Linked DNA regions of Homo sapiens: regions 1, 2, 4 and 5 are each linked to region 3. Evidence: promoter capture Hi-C in 16 types of primary human blood cells and fetal thymus (Javierre and others, 2016). All regions are on one chromosome and are shown on one strand. Each heading gives the region's core, a stretch centred on a gene start or on the middle of the fragment in contact. The rest is flanking DNA. Distances are from core to core; before and after follow the strand shown. Region 1 holds the start of TUFM (Tu translation elongation factor, mitochondrial). Region 2 holds the start of ATP2A1 (ATPase sarcoplasmic/endoplasmic reticulum Ca2+ transporting 1). Region 3 holds the start of HIRIP3 (HIRA interacting protein 3). Region 4 has its middle 2.9 kb from the start of SPNS1. Region 5 holds the start of RABEP2 (rabaptin, RAB GTPase binding effector protein 2).

Region 1 (2,700 bases), core at 182-2,681, 1.1 Mb after region 3:
GTCATGATCATACCTCACCACAGCCTTGAACTCCTGAGCTCAGGCGATCCTCCTGCCTCGGCCTCCTGAGTAGGAGGGGCTATAGCTGCATGCTACTGTGCCTGGCTAATTTTAAATTTTTTTTTGTAGAGATAGGGTCTCCTAATCTGCCCAGGCTGGTCTTGAACTCCTGGCTTCAAACCGTCCTCCCACCTCAGCCTCCCAAACTGCTGGGACTATAGGCTGGCACTATAGCCACCGTGCCCAGCCTCTTCTCAGTTTTAGAAGAGTGTTTGTTATATAGCTTCCCAGTCTGTGCATAGACCCCACGGAATCATAACCTCCAGGGGAGGAATTAGGGAATCTATTTGAAACAAACACTGTCCACTGAGTCTCAGGATCTGATGAGTTCCGAAACATTAGCCAGGGTTAAGCAGCCATAATTAACACTTTGGAGTGCCCTGTGGAAGCTGCCATGAGATGATGGATGTGAAAGTTAAGGGACATTGACTACCCTTGCACCCATTCATTCAACATTCACTGCATGCTCCACCCTGTTAGGTGCTGGGGACACCGACAGATTAAAGGAGACTCAGGCTCCCCTTAAAGGCTCCCCTAGCTGGCTCCTCATCCTTGGCTCCTCATCTGCAAAATTAGATGGGTGGGGCGATGCCCAACGGAACTGCTCCTTAGGCTGCTGAGGGACTACAGGGGTGGGCAGCGAAGCTGTCTGTCTTGTGGGCTCTGGCCCTGTGAGGTCTAGCAGTACAGGGTCCCCGCAAGCTGCCTGACCTCACAGGGCCCAACACTGACTCCTACCCAGTTCATCTCCTCTCAGGGCTAGATGTCAGGCTCTCCCTATGAAGTGGATACTACTATTCCCATTTTACAGATTAGAAAACAAAGTCTCAGCGAAGAGGGAGGTCACACTTCACCCCATCCCCGAAAGGCGTCCAGGACCTGGTCCCCTACCTCCAGCTGCGGCAGAGGCGGCCAGATATCTCGCAAGACCCGCGTAGCGAGTCGGACTCCGGGGGACTCGGGGTCTCTCTCTGCCGGGCCCAGGAGGAGGTTCCTGAGCAGTCGGAGCCGCAGCTGCCTCCCGGAGCCCGAGCCCCTCCCTCCGGGTCCGGCCTAGCCCGCCTGACTCCCACTCTGATCACCTCCACAGCCCGCCGACCTGAGAACTACTACGCCCATGAGCCTTCGCGGCGCCGGTGATTTAGGGGACGCTCCTCAGTGCCCCCTGCGACCGCCAGAGAGAACTACGTTGCCCCTCAGCCCGAGAGGCGCGAGTGGTGGAAAACCTCTCCATCATACTCCGCCCTCGAGACACCAGCCCCCTCCATGACGTCTTCAGCCGCGCGCCCGACGTCGGCTGAGACGGCCATAGACACTGGCGGCTAGAGGGGCCCGGACTTGCCCTCCCAGCTCTAACTTCCGCCGGAAGTGCCTTCCAGCCGCAGGCGCCCTTCTTCTTCTGTGCGCTCGGGCTCCTGGTCCCGGCTCCCCGGTTACCGGGGCGCGAGTATGACCACAATGGCGGCCGCCACCCTGCTGCGCGCGACGCCCCACTTCAGCGGTGAGTGGTCAGGGAGGGCGATGGCGGCCCAGGAACACTTTGGGGGAGTGGTAGGTGGCTGGGTTCGGTCTGACCCCTTCCCTGCCTGACTCCAAGCTTCGGTCCCGGCAGGTCTCGCCGCCGGCCGGACCTTCCTGCTGCAGGGTCTGTTGCGGCTGCTGAAAGCCCCGGCATTGCCTCTCTTGTGCCGCGGCCTGGCCGTGGAGGCCAAGAAGACTTACGTGCGCGACAAGCCACATGTGAATGTGGGTACCATCGGCCATGTGGACCACGGGAAGACCACGCTGACTGCAGCCATCACGAAGAGTGAGTGGGGTTGGGGCGTCCAGCAGCGCCCTATCTACTGATGGGACCTGGAGCCAGGGAGGCAAGGCCAGCAGAGTGTCTGCTGGAGGAGTTTACTGTGGCCCCAAGAGCCCGAATTTGTGCGACAGGTGGATTGGGAGATGCAAGAGACAAATTTCTCCTGAACAGGAAGAACTTTGTGATCCACCAATGGCTTGGGGATCACAAAGTCGTGGGGAATGCTCTGCAAGCAGAGGCTGTACCCTAAAGAAGTCACAGGGCAGACCCTTAAGGCCCTCTAACATTTCTTTCTGACCCACAGTTCTCTCTGCTGGAAGAGTTAGAGATTGGAGGAGGTTATGTATTTAGGTGGGAGGGTTCAGGGGCGTGGTCTAAGCTCTGCCTCTAGCACTGGAACTTTAGCTGAGAGGTGTGTTCTTTTCCTCCTTTAGTTCTAGCTGAGGGAGGTGGGGCTAAGTTCAAGAAGTACGAGGAGATTGACAATGCCCCGGAGGAGCGAGCTCGGGGTATCACCATCAATGCGGCTCATGTGGAGTATAGCACTGCCGCCCGCCACTACGCCCACACAGACTGCCCGGGTCATGCAGATTATGTTAAGGTGAGGGTTGCTGGGACACTGGAGACAGGGCCAGAAGCTGCCTCTTGTCAGGATAAATGTTAGGCTTGTGGGGAGGAGATTAAGATATTCAGTGTTTGGGTATGAGATGGCAGGTTTGTGGTCTTGGCCACGCAGAATGGGTGGTGAGGAGATGGTAGAGAAAGGTGGGCCTGAGTTTCTAACTGCTACACTTGGCTATATGGATGTGAACTGAAGAGCTCGTTGAACTTGGCTG
Region 2 (2,700 bases), core at 16-2,515, 1.1 Mb after region 3:
AGGAGAGAGGAGGACGCGAATCACACCCGCTGCTGCGCGCCAGCCCGCCCCGTCTGTACAATGGGATGCTCGGGACTCGGACGGGAGGATCCAGTGACTGCGAGCCCCGCATTCGCCCGATCCCAGCCTCACACCCCCAGCCAGCCCCCAGAGACCCTCCCACACTTACGAAGGAAATGCATGCGGCCAGGAGGAGAATCCGCACCAGGAGGTCTTCAAACTGCTCTATCACCAGCTCCCACAGGGTCTTCCCTGGGGGAGGAGGCAAGGGGAGGGCCCCGGGTTAAGGTCTAGTGGGTGAAGGTCTGGGATGGAGCGCCCTGGACTCCGGCCTGCAGTGGGGAGGCTCTAGGGTGGTGGGCAGACAGCTTGGTGCCCAGAGAAGGGCTAAGAAGCTCGCCTGGAGTCCAGAAACAGACTCGGCAAAGTGGGGGGCAGTTCAAGGGTTGGCTGCTTCAAGGAGAAAGCGCCTGGGAGACTTCTGCCCCGGACAGGACTCTAACCTTTAGGGAGGGAGATTTGCCTTTTGGGAAGGGATATTTGCTCAAAGAATCTAAAGAGGCAGGGAGGAGGGAGTGGGACAGGGCGGGGTGGGGGGTGGTCATTTATGAGAGTTCAGGGATTCCAGTAACTTACCTTCCTCAGCAGGGAGCTCTACCCAGGAAAAAGAAGAAAAGGACAGATTCATTTGGGGTTCAGCCTCATGCCCCCCACACCCAAGACTTTGTGGCTAAGAGAATCAGGCCACCTTGAGGTTCATCAAGTTCATCCCATTAAAACCTCCCAAAACTCTGGATCTCGGGACTCTGTTTTCTCAGTATCTTCTTCCCCCTGCGAGCATTGGACAACGGCCCAGCTCTTCCTTAAGAAACCCTGAAGGGAGAAACGCGTGCATGCGTGTGCGTGTGTTTTGGGGGTGCAGGAGGGCATTAATTACCAGCCGCTCTTCCAAGGGACACTTACCATTGAGGCCGTATTTCTCCAGATTCCGCTTAACTTGGTCCGGGGTGAGGCCCGTGGTCTCACTCACCCCAAAATAGGCCAAACATTCCTCCGTGGTTTTAGCATGAGCGGCCTCCATTGTGCTCCCTTCCTGGGGGCCGGGGCCGGTGTGTTCCTTCCAGGGGGTTCCCACTCGTGGGGGGTCTTCCTCAGTGTGTCCAACTGCCTGTCTGCCTGGGTTTCTTCTTTTTACTCTCCTGCCCCCTCCAGGTTTTTCTTCCCTCCACAAAGCTCTGACCCCCGTCCCACTTGAGCAGCCGGCCACCCCCCGGCCCCCAGCTGGTCCTTATGAGGGAGCAGGGGGAGGCCGGGCTCCCCCCTCCACCAGATCAGGGATTGGCTGGCTGAGACTCCAGCAGGAGGTGGTCAGAAAAGAGAGATATTTCTGCTGACAGAGGGGGAACAGTGGGGCTGCAGCCTGAGATGTCACTCATGAGGGACGCAAAGGTAGCCCCAGCCCCAGGGAAGTGGGGTAGGGAGAGACTTCACTTTCTGTCATCTGCTACTGACCCTGCCCCCCCATTGCCTCGACTTCCCCAGCTGCATTGAATTTCCCATTCCAAACTCATCCCCCCAGTTCTTCCCGGAGCCCTCTTCCATCCCCGGCCTCACCTGTCCCTTTCCTCACACCCCCCTTCCTGCCTCATCTGCCCGGAGCCTGTTTCCATTGCCGCAGTCTCCTTCCTCCTCACCCCATTTGCTGAAGCAGTGGCAGAGATACCCCAAGCCTTTGGGGGACTGATGAAGGGAGAACATCTTTTGGGGGCTAGAGGAAGTGAGTGGCTCCTAGAGGGACAAGGGGAAGTGAGGGGAGAGAGTCAAGGGGACAGGGCCGAAGATGGTAACCCTACCCTAGGGAGGGGTTGCCACAGCCATCAACAAGGGATTTAGTGTCCAGGCCCTGGTGAGCAAAGCCAGCACTGCCTGTCTCTCCCCAAAACTGCCCCCCCCCTTCCCCATCGCTCTAACTCAGCCTCTGGGAACAGAGCCCTGAGGGCCCCCCCATCCTGGATAGGGAATCCCCACCCCACCCCCAAGAAAATGGGACACCAAGGCAGCCAAGTAACCCAAGAGGCTACAGAATGTGCTGATGGCAGAGGGGGAGGGGTAACTGTCTCAGGATGGGGGCAGGGGTCACCCCAAGTCGTGCACTGAGGGTCACCTCATCCCACACTGTGCTCTAACCAACGGGGTTTCTGTGGCCAGCCCCAGAGGCCTGTGGTCTGCGCTGCACTCTGCCCTGCTGCATCTGTCCACGAGGGGAACAGGATCAGGCCCATGCTGTGTGCGTGCAGGAGCTAGGCAGACCCCACAGAAAGGTGTCGGGGCCTGGGGAAGCTGGACCAAGCAGGGGCTCCAGACCAAAGGAATGGGGAAGGGTGGACTTCTGGGGACAGGTCTGGGGGAAATAAGGACAGATGTCTAGACCTAGGGGGAAAGGGAGCAGAGACACAGAGCCACCAGGGTCAGAGGGAAGTCCGAGCAGCAGTGGGGAAGAGGGACAGCAGGGAGCCAGGTGGGCGGGGACCCCGGCGCTGGGTGCAAAGCCACAAGTTGTTGCTGAATGCTGGCCTTGGTGTCAGCTTCCTCAGAGAAGCAGCTGCTCTGAGCTGCCCCTCCCCACCCCTGCTCCAGGATGGGGGCGTCTCTTGGTTACCACCAGGGCAGCTGCTGGAGGAGCCGAGGGAGGGTACCAGG
Region 3 (2,700 bases), core at 55-2,554:
AGGAAGCTTGCTAAGTACCAGGAACCATGCTCTCCACCAATTTTTGAAGACCTTGCTCACCCGAAGAGTCTTCATCCACGTTCTCGTACTGCAGAAGTCGGTCTAGGAGGAAACTGAGGGGAGGGAAGGAGACACGGACAGTGATTTTCCAGCGCAGCAATGTCCTCCTGGGTACCTGTCCCTCCCAGCTGGCCCATCGGATACTTGAAAGAGCCCATGCACTTGTGGCCCTACTCGGGGATGGGGTCCGAATGTAGATTTCCTAGGAAGCACATCGCCCTCCGCCCCTGCAACGTGCCTCACCTCTTGTCCCGGGACACCTTCAGTAATTTCCTTTGCGCTTTCCTCAGCTCCTCCTGGAAGCACTCGTGCTCCTGTATCACGGGCAAGGGGTGCGCTGGGCCAACGGTCCTCCGTGAAGGGCCCCGGAACCAGCGGCCGCTCGCCCCACCCACTTTACACCTGGGTAAACTGAGATCTTGTCCGCGCCAGGCCTCATCCCCCACAGCCTTCCCGCGGCAGCACTCACGTAGATGAGGAACTTGAGCTTCCGCTTCAGATTCCGGTATTTTTTTTTGTAGTCCACTTCGCCGTCCGCCGGCCCGTTCATGACCGGCCCGGGAGTGGCGCCCAGAGTCTGCCCTCCCGCTACCCCAAGCAGTGGCTGCCGTGCCGCTCCCGCCTCCACTTCCGGAGACGCTGCAAGGCTGTGCCGTCAGGACTACAACTCCCGGCGTACCCCGCGCTCAGGGGCGTCACCGCACGGGCCGACCTCCCGGGGGACACTGGGACAGGAGCGCGGCAGCCACTGCGCTGGGGATGGCGTAGCAGCGACGCGGTGACGCCACAAAAATGGCGGACGCTGGAAAGCGCCGTTCCTGACTCTAATGTACTTAGACACTTGAAGCCACAAAAGGATTTATCCCCGAGGTTCCTCATCTGCTCGCGAGGATGCCTTTTCTCTTCTGCCTTGCGAAATAACAGCAGCCTAGCTGTTGCCCGTGACCAGTGAGAAAGGCAGCGTCGCGGGCTGATTAGGTTTCACCCAAAGGGTGCCGGCGCCGAATTGGTTTCTAACGAGAACTTTTAAAATGATCCGTTCCAAAAAAGGGTAGGAGCCGCGAGACCCTCCAACTGCCCAGAGAAAACAAGTCTCGTCTGGCAAAGTTCTCGGCCCACGCGGTCCGCGGCCAAGGGCCAACGGTCCCTCGCCCCACGTTGCCGCAGCACTGCGCGTGCGCGAGCCGCTGTCAAACGCGCTGACGGAGGCCGAGAAGAAAAAAAGGCGGGAGCCGTCAATCCCGGGTTGAGCAAAATGGCGCGGGAGAAGGAGATGCAGGAGTTCACCCGTAGCTTCTTCCGAGGCCGCCCGGACCTCAGGTGCCCAGGGGGTTGGAGATGGGGTTGGAAAGGGCGCGGGTGGGTCGGGACTCCGTCCTGACACCATGTCCCTGCAGCACGCTTACGCATTCCATCGTGCGGCGGAGGTACTTAGCTCACTCGGGCCGCAGCCACCTGGAGCCCGAGGAGAAGCAGGCACTGAAGCGGCTGGTGGAGGAGGAGCTGCTGAAGATGCAGGTGTGCCGGGCCGGAGCCTGGGCCGCGGGAGGCGGAGGCGGGGCTTGCTGCTGAGGAGGAGGGGCCTGACGGGGCGCGGTGAGCGCAGCCTTGGTGCATAGTTTGCCCTCTTGGCGCACACACAGGTGGATGAAGCCGCTTCCAGGGAAGACAAACTGGACCTTACCAAGAAGGGCAAGAGGCCTCCCACCCCTTGTAGCGACCCGGAGAGAAAAAGGTTCCGCTTCAATTCAGAGTCGGGTTAGTGCTTCCTCCCTGCTGTGGGGGCCTTCTGCATCGTTGGTTCACTCAAGAAGCATTCACTGCGCATCTCTTATGTCCCCAGGCGTTAGATGAGGGAGCAAGGCTAGTGAGTCAGGAACCGGGAACAGCAAGTACAGATAGCTGTTTCCTGCTGCCCCTCCAACTGTCAGGGCAGGGCTCGAGGCAACCTATCCGAAGTGAAGGGAGAAGGGACAGGAGGAGCCTGTCTCAACCCTCTCTCCTCTCCATATTCCAGAGTCCGGCTCTGAAGCCTCCAGCCCAGACTACTTTGGACCCCCAGCAAAGAATGGGGTGGCAGCAGAAGTCAGCCCAGCCAAAGAGGAGAATCCAAGGCGAGCCTCAAAGGCAGTTGAGGAGAGCAGTGATGAGGAACGGCAGAGGGACCTGCCCGCACAGAGGGGAGAGGAGAGCAGTGAGGAGGAGGAAAAGGGGTACAAGGGGAAGACTAGGAAGAAACCTGTGGTAAAGAAGCAGGCACCAGGCAAGGCCTCAGTCAGTAGGAAGCAGGCCAGGGAAGAAAGTGAGGAGAGCGAGGCAGAACCCGTTCAGAGGACAGCAAAGAAGGTGGAGGGAAATAAAGGAACTAAAAGCCTGAAGGAAAGTGAACAGGAGAGTGAAGAGGAGATCCTAGCCCAGAAGAAAGAGCAGAGAGAGGAGGAAGTGGAGGAGGAAGAGAAAGAAGAGGATGAGGAAAAGGGGGATTGGAAACCCAGAACCAGGAGCAATGGCCGGAGAAAGTCAGCTAGGGAGGAGAGGAGCTGTAAGCAGAAAAGCCAGGCAAAGAGGCTCTTGGGAGACTCAGACAGCGAGGAAGAGCAGAAAGAGGCAGCCAGCAGTGGGGATGACAGTGGGAGAGAT
Region 4 (2,728 bases), core at 102-2,601, 1.0 Mb after region 3:
TTGGCCAGGCTGGTCTTGAACTCCTGACCTCAAGTGATCTGCCCGCCTCAGCCTCCCACCGTGCTGGGATTACAGGGGTGAGCCACCATGCCCAGTGTCATTTTAATTTTTATATTTGTAGAGATGAGTTATCGCTATGTTGTCCAGGCTAGTCTGGAACTCCTGAACTCAAGCAATCCTCCCACCTCATCCTCCCAAAATGCTAGGACTACAGGTGTGAGCCACTGCACCCAGCTCTTTTGTCCATTTTAAAAATTGTGTTTTTGGCCAGGCACAGTGGCTCATGCCTGTAATCCTAGCCCTTTGGGAAGCTGAGGTGGGAGGATCACTTCAGCCCAGGAGTTCAAGATCAGCCTGGGCAACAAAGCAAGACTCATCTCTACAAAAAAACTAAATAAATAAAAATTAAATATACACTTCCCATATGACCCAGCAATTCCACTCCTAGGTAACCACCAATGAGAAATGAAAACGTGTCCAAACAAAAACCTGTATATGAATGTTCATAAATGCATTATTCATAATAGCCCAAAAATGAAAAGAATCCACATGTCCATCAACAGGGGCATAATCTATTCATACAACGGGAATAGCTTAACAAGAAAAAGGAATGAACTGTCAGAGACGTTCGGACCAGAGTGACTCCATCTTGAGTGACGGTTAGGAAAATAAGGCTGGGACTTGCTGGACTGAATTACAGAAAGTAAGGCATTCCTAGACTCGACATGTTTATGGTTAAGGAAACAATAACGTTTACTAGGCCGGGCGCAGTGGCTCACGCCTGTAATCCCAACACTTTGGGAGGGCGAGGCGGGTGGATCACAAGGTCAGGAGTTCAAGACCAGCCTGGCCAAGATGGTGAAAACCCATCTCTACTAAAAACACACACAAAAAATTAGCCAGACGTGGTGGTGGGCGTCTGCAATCCCAGCTACTCGGGAGGTTGAGGCAGAGAACTGCTTGAACCCAGGGGGCAGAGGCTGCAGTGAGCCGAGATTGTGCCACTGCACTCCAGCCTGGGCAACCGTGTGAGACACCGTCTCAAAAAAAAAAAAAAAAAATTAGCCGGGCATGGTAGCACACACCTGTAATCCCAACTACTCAGGAGGCTGAGGCAGAAGAATCACTTGAACCTGGGAGGCAGAGGCTGCAGTGAGTTGAGAGAGCACCACTGCACTCCCACCCGGGCAACAAGAGCAAAACTCCATCTCAAATAATAATAATATAATGTTTACTAAACAGACCCAGACTTGGGAGTGTCCAGATATCCCAATATATGGAGAACAAAGCATTCCTAATTTTGCTTTAAAGATAACAATATTGATTCTTGCTAAATATAGTAATTAAGAAAATTAGCCGGGCGCAGTGGCTTATGCCTGTAATCCCAGCACTTTGGGAGGTCAAGGCAGGCGGATCACGAGGTCAGGAGTTCAAGGCCAGCCTGGCCAACATGGTGAAACCCCATCTCTACTAAAAATACAAAAATTAGCTGGGCATAGTGGCGTGTTCCTGTAATCCCAGCTACTCAGGAGGCTGAGGCAGGAGAATTGCTTAAATTGGGACCCAGGAGGCGGAGGTTGCAGTGAGCCAAGATCGTGCCACAGCACTCCAGCCTGGGCGACAGAGCGAGACTCCATCTCAAAAAAAAAAAAAAAAAAAATCCTTTATCACAAACCCTTGTAGCAGAGCACATCTCCCCATATATATGAGTCTTGTACATAAGGTGGATGCCTTCCCCTTCTTACTTTCAGGAATGTCCTACTCTGTCTATGGAGTAGCTGTACTTTCACCAGTTTACTTTTTTTTTTTTTTTTTTTTGAGACGGAGTCTCACTCTGTAGCCCAGGCTGGAGTGCAATGGCATGATCTCAGCTCACTGTAACCTCTGCCTCCCAGGTTCAAGTGAGTCTCCTGCCTCAGCCTCCCAAGTAGCTGACATTATAGGCCCCAACCATCTCGCCCAGCTAATTTTTGTATTTTTAGTAAAGATAGGGTTTCGCCATGTTGGCCAGGCTGGTCTTGAACTCCTGACCTCAGGTGATCCGCCCACCTCAGCCTCCCAAAGTGCTAGGATTACAGGTGTGAGCCACTGTGCCCGGCCCAGTTTACTTTCTTAATAAACTTGCTTTTACTTCACACTGTGGACTCACCCTGAATTCTTTCTTGCACGAGATCCAAGAACCTTCACTTGGGGTCTGGATCGGGACCCCTGTCCTGTAACAGAACTACTGATACAAACGCAGAAACATTGTGTTAAGTAAAAGAAGCCAGACACAAAACACTGCATACTGTTATTCCATTTATATGAACATCCAGAGAAGGCAAAAGTAAGGTGACAGAAAGCAGATTAGTGGTTGCCTGGGGTCATGGGCAAGAGAAGGAAACTTTTGCACAACCGTGTACATCTACCAAAACTCACTGAAGGCCAGGCATGGTGGCTCATGCCTGTAATTCCAGCACTTAGGGAGGCTGAAATGGGAAGATGTTTGAGGCCAGGAGTTTGAGGCTGCAGTGAACTATGATTGCGCCACTGCACTCCAGCCTGGGTGACAGAGCAAGACCCTGTCTCTACATAAATAATTTTTTGAAAAAATTCACTGAACTGTATGCTTAAAATGAGTCAATGTTTAGGCATATTAATTAAACTACAATAGGCCGGGAGTGGTGGTTCACGCCTGTAATCCCAGCACTTTGGCAGGAGGATCACTTGAGTTCAGGAGTTTGAGACC
Region 5 (2,700 bases), core at 81-2,580, 1.1 Mb after region 3:
TGCATTAATTTGCTGAGGATAATAGCTTCTAGCTTCATCCATGTCCCTGCAAAGGACATGATCTCGTTCCTTTTTATGGCTGTATAGTATTCCATGGTGTATATGTACCACATTTTCTTTATCCAGTCTATCATTGATGGGCATTTGGGTTGAGTCCATGTCTTTGCTATTTTGAATAGTGCTTCAATGAACATACTCGTGCATGTATCTTTGTAATAGAATGATTTATATTCCTTTAGGTATATACCCAGTAATGGGATTTCTGGGTCAAATGGTATTTCTGGTTCTAGGTCTTTGAGGAATCACCACACTGTCTTCCACAATGGTTGAACTAATTTACATTCCCACCAACAGTGTAAAAGCGTTCTACCTTTGGCCATTTTCAAACTGCATTATCTGTTTTACAAAAATCGCTCCAGCTGCTTTACGGAGAATTAATTAATTAAAGGGTGGAGTCGACACTGCGGAAGTTCAGGAGAAGTGATGGGAGCTGGGACGGAGTGTTAGCGCTGGAGATGGAGAAAAAGGGGCACATTCTGGAATAGTCAGCACATTGGAAGTAGAGTTTACGGGACTTGCAGGAGGACACGTAGAATCAAGGACTTCCAGGTTCCTGGCGTGTCCTTTACAGAGGGAAAAAAGGTTTGAGGGAAGGGGAACCAAGGCTCTGGACATAAATCTGAATTGCCTGTCACCGTCCGGGTGGAGGTCACAGATAAAGAGCCTGATCTAGACACAGGCGGAGAGGAGAGGAGGGATTTGAGGGCGTTGGGAGGAGGAAAGGGGGGCCAGCAGGAAGCGGTGACTGGCTGAGTAACAAAATGGGGGTGGGGACGTGCAAGTTTCAGACTCCGACTAACTACGCGGGGACTCCGAGGCGCTCAGAAAAATGAAGCCGACCCGGCCCTGCCCCGAGGGACGCTCCAAGAGGGCGGAGGTGCAGGGAGGGCCCCGCCACAATTCGCGGTAACGCAAGCCAGGCTCGGGCGGAAGGGCGGCCGGAGCCGATCAAAGGCTGGCTCCGGGCAGGGGCAGCGAGGGAGCGAGGGGGAGCTCTCCGCAGGCCGGTGTCCCGGAGGAGGCATAATTGGAGCAGGGCTTCCAAGGTCACGGAGAGACGCCGGGCAAGACCTCTTAAGGATCCTCTTCCGGGCTTGAAAGGCAGGCGTCCTCCCGAACCGCGCGACCCAGCCAAGAAGAGCCGGGGCGGGGCCGGGGCCGGGGCCGGGGGCCGACTCGGGAATCTTCGGCCGAGGCTCGGCAATCCCCCCATCCTCCGTCCGGGGCCTCCAGCCCGGGGCCGATCCGGAAACAGCCGAGCGGATCCGGAAACAGCCGAGAGGACCCGGAAGCGGTGCGCTCCGTCACCAGGGAGTGCGGGAATCCGCCGTTTGCGCTGAGGCAATGGCGGCAGCTGCGCCGGTGGCCGCGGACGACGATGAGCGGCGGCGGCGGCCGGGGGCTGGTACGTGAGGGGGCGTCCGTGCAAGCGGGGAACGGTGATGCTGGGGGCGGGGCCGAGCCAGCCACCTGCGGATGGGGGGTGGAGAGGGATGATGGAGGAAGGGGCGGGGCCACGCCGTCGGGAAAGGGGGCGGGGCCTACAGCCACAGGCAAAAGGGGGCGTGGCCCGGCCATTGAAGGGGTAGGGCCAGTGACAGGTGCGAAGTGGGGCCCGGTGAGGAAGGGGCGCGGCCACTAGGAGGGCGGGGCCAGGTGGGACCGAAGAGAGGACTGAGTGAAACTGGCCACCGCGAAGAGATGGAGTGTAGGCAGCACCCGGCAGAGCGAGTGGGAAGGGGGCGGGGCAGGGGCGGGGCCAGGTGAGCCGGGCGGGCCCAGGTGAAGGAGGCCCCAGATGAAGGCAACAGTACTAGGTTGCAGGACTTGCTAAGCCGGTAGGTGGCCTGGGGTAAGAGATGGGAAGAGAGGCTGATCCCTGTCCCCCACAGCACTGGAGGACTCCCGGTCCCAGGAAGGGGCAAATGGTGAGGCCGAGTCAGGTGAGCTCAGCCGGCTTCGGGCTGAGCTGGCAGGCGCCCTGGCAGAAATGGAAACCATGAAGGCTGTGGCAGAGGTGAGCGAGAGCACGAAGGCCGAGGCTGTGGCTGCGGTGCAGCGGCAGTGCCAAGAGGAGGTGGCCTCGCTGCAGGCCATCCTGAAAGGTGAGACGCGGGACTCACCTAGACTCCCCATCAACCCCATACTGGGGAGTGCATGACGAGAAAGGGATTGGGGGCACAGATAAGCTATGGGATAGGTTAGCAGGGCTGCCTGGCACAGGGCATGCCTATGGCCCAGAGGAAGGGCCGCCCTTTTAAAATTTGCATAGAGGCCCTCCATGTGATAGCAGCAGCTCTGTCAGTTATAGCTAAGTTTAGCTCCCAGCTTCTATCTGTTGCCTTGTCCCATGTCATTTCTTGTCCCTCACTGATGATTGATCAACCCTGAAGATGGGCGAGAAACTTCTCAGTTCCCCAAACCAACCTCATTTTAGTCTGGACTTCTGGGAAATAGAATCAGCCCTGGCCCAGTCTCTGTGAGTCTAATGCTCTGCTCTCTAGCCTTCCCCAGACACTCCCCCCTCCACCCCACGCCATGCACCAGCTTCCCCACCTCCGCCCCACGTTCTTTGTACTTGGTCCTCTGGCCCCAGACGCCCCAGCTGCTGATCCTGTTTTCTACTCTCCTTCCTCTAGC

What was found. The method cuts DNA at HindIII sites, captures the fragments that hold promoters and counts their contacts. A CHiCAGO score of 5 or more calls a contact.
Region 1: a contact is called between the fragment with the promoter of TUFM here and the fragment with the promoter of HIRIP3 in region 3, in 2 of 17 cell types (non-activated CD4 T cells and fetal thymus). The highest score is 9.8, in non-activated CD4 T cells.
Region 2: a contact is called between the fragment with the promoter of ATP2A1 here and the fragment with the promoter of HIRIP3 in region 3, in 1 of 17 cell types (fetal thymus). The highest score is 6.3, in fetal thymus.
Region 4: a contact is called between a fragment that was not itself captured here and the fragment with the promoter of HIRIP3 in region 3, in 1 of 17 cell types (erythroblasts). The highest score is 6.6, in erythroblasts.
Region 5: the fragment with the promoter of RABEP2 here is called in contact with the fragment with the promoter of HIRIP3 in region 3 in 5 of 17 cell types (fetal thymus, total B cells, naive B cells and 2 more); the score reaches 12.2 in fetal thymus.

The regions. Positions count from the first base shown.
Region 1 is chr16:28,845,079-28,847,778 of GRCh38, reverse strand. It overlaps TUFM (Tu translation elongation factor, mitochondrial), which reads left to right and starts at 1,431. Exons shown (of 10, transcript NM_003321.5): 1 at 1,431-1,561; 2 at 1,673-1,867; 3 at 2,299-2,465. The coding sequence starts at 1,510. It also overlaps a transcript of SH2B1 not described here. RefSeq lists an enhancer at 1,080-1,569. The HindIII fragment of the contact is 15,792 bases long and covers 1-1,659 here.
Region 2 is chr16:28,877,053-28,879,752 of GRCh38, reverse strand. It overlaps ATP2A1 (ATPase sarcoplasmic/endoplasmic reticulum Ca2+ transporting 1), which reads right to left and starts at 1,265. Exons shown (of 23, transcript NM_004320.6): 1 at 964-1,265; 2 at 637-654; 3 at 170-252. The coding sequence starts at 1,081. ATP2A1-AS1 (ATP2A1 antisense RNA 1) reads left to right here. Exons shown (of 2, transcript NR_046290.1): 1 at 1-211; 2 at 649-796. RefSeq lists a silencer at 1-35 and enhancers at 106-879, 2,125-2,214, 2,225-2,294. The HindIII fragment of the contact is 4,054 bases long and covers 1-2,700 here.
Region 3 is chr16:29,994,221-29,996,920 of GRCh38, reverse strand. HIRIP3 (HIRA interacting protein 3) reads left to right here and starts at 1,304. Exons shown (of 7, transcript NM_003609.5): 1 at 1,304-1,380; 2 at 1,458-1,578; 3 at 1,704-1,818; 4 at 2,078-2,700. The coding sequence starts at 1,316. It overlaps INO80E (INO80 complex subunit E), which reads right to left and starts at 680. Exons shown (of 7, transcript NM_173618.3): 1 at 530-680; 2 at 304-374; 3 at 61-113. The coding sequence starts at 610. RefSeq lists enhancers at 597-726, 787-956. The HindIII fragment of the contact is 4,684 bases long and covers 9-2,700 here.
Region 4 is chr16:28,970,545-28,973,272 of GRCh38, reverse strand. No RefSeq gene overlaps it. Among named protein-coding and RNA genes, the nearest start is that of SPNS1, 2.9 kb to the left of the region's middle. The HindIII fragment of the contact is 3,657 bases long and covers 1-2,728 here.
Region 5 is chr16:28,923,868-28,926,567 of GRCh38, reverse strand. RABEP2 (rabaptin, RAB GTPase binding effector protein 2) reads left to right here and starts at 1,330. Exons shown (of 13, transcript NM_024816.3): 1 at 1,330-1,465; 2 at 1,953-2,165. The coding sequence starts at 1,405. RefSeq lists enhancers at 287-870, 1,849-2,078, 2,109-2,198 and silencers at 1,089-1,438, 1,469-1,688. The HindIII fragment of the contact is 8,433 bases long and covers 1-2,700 here.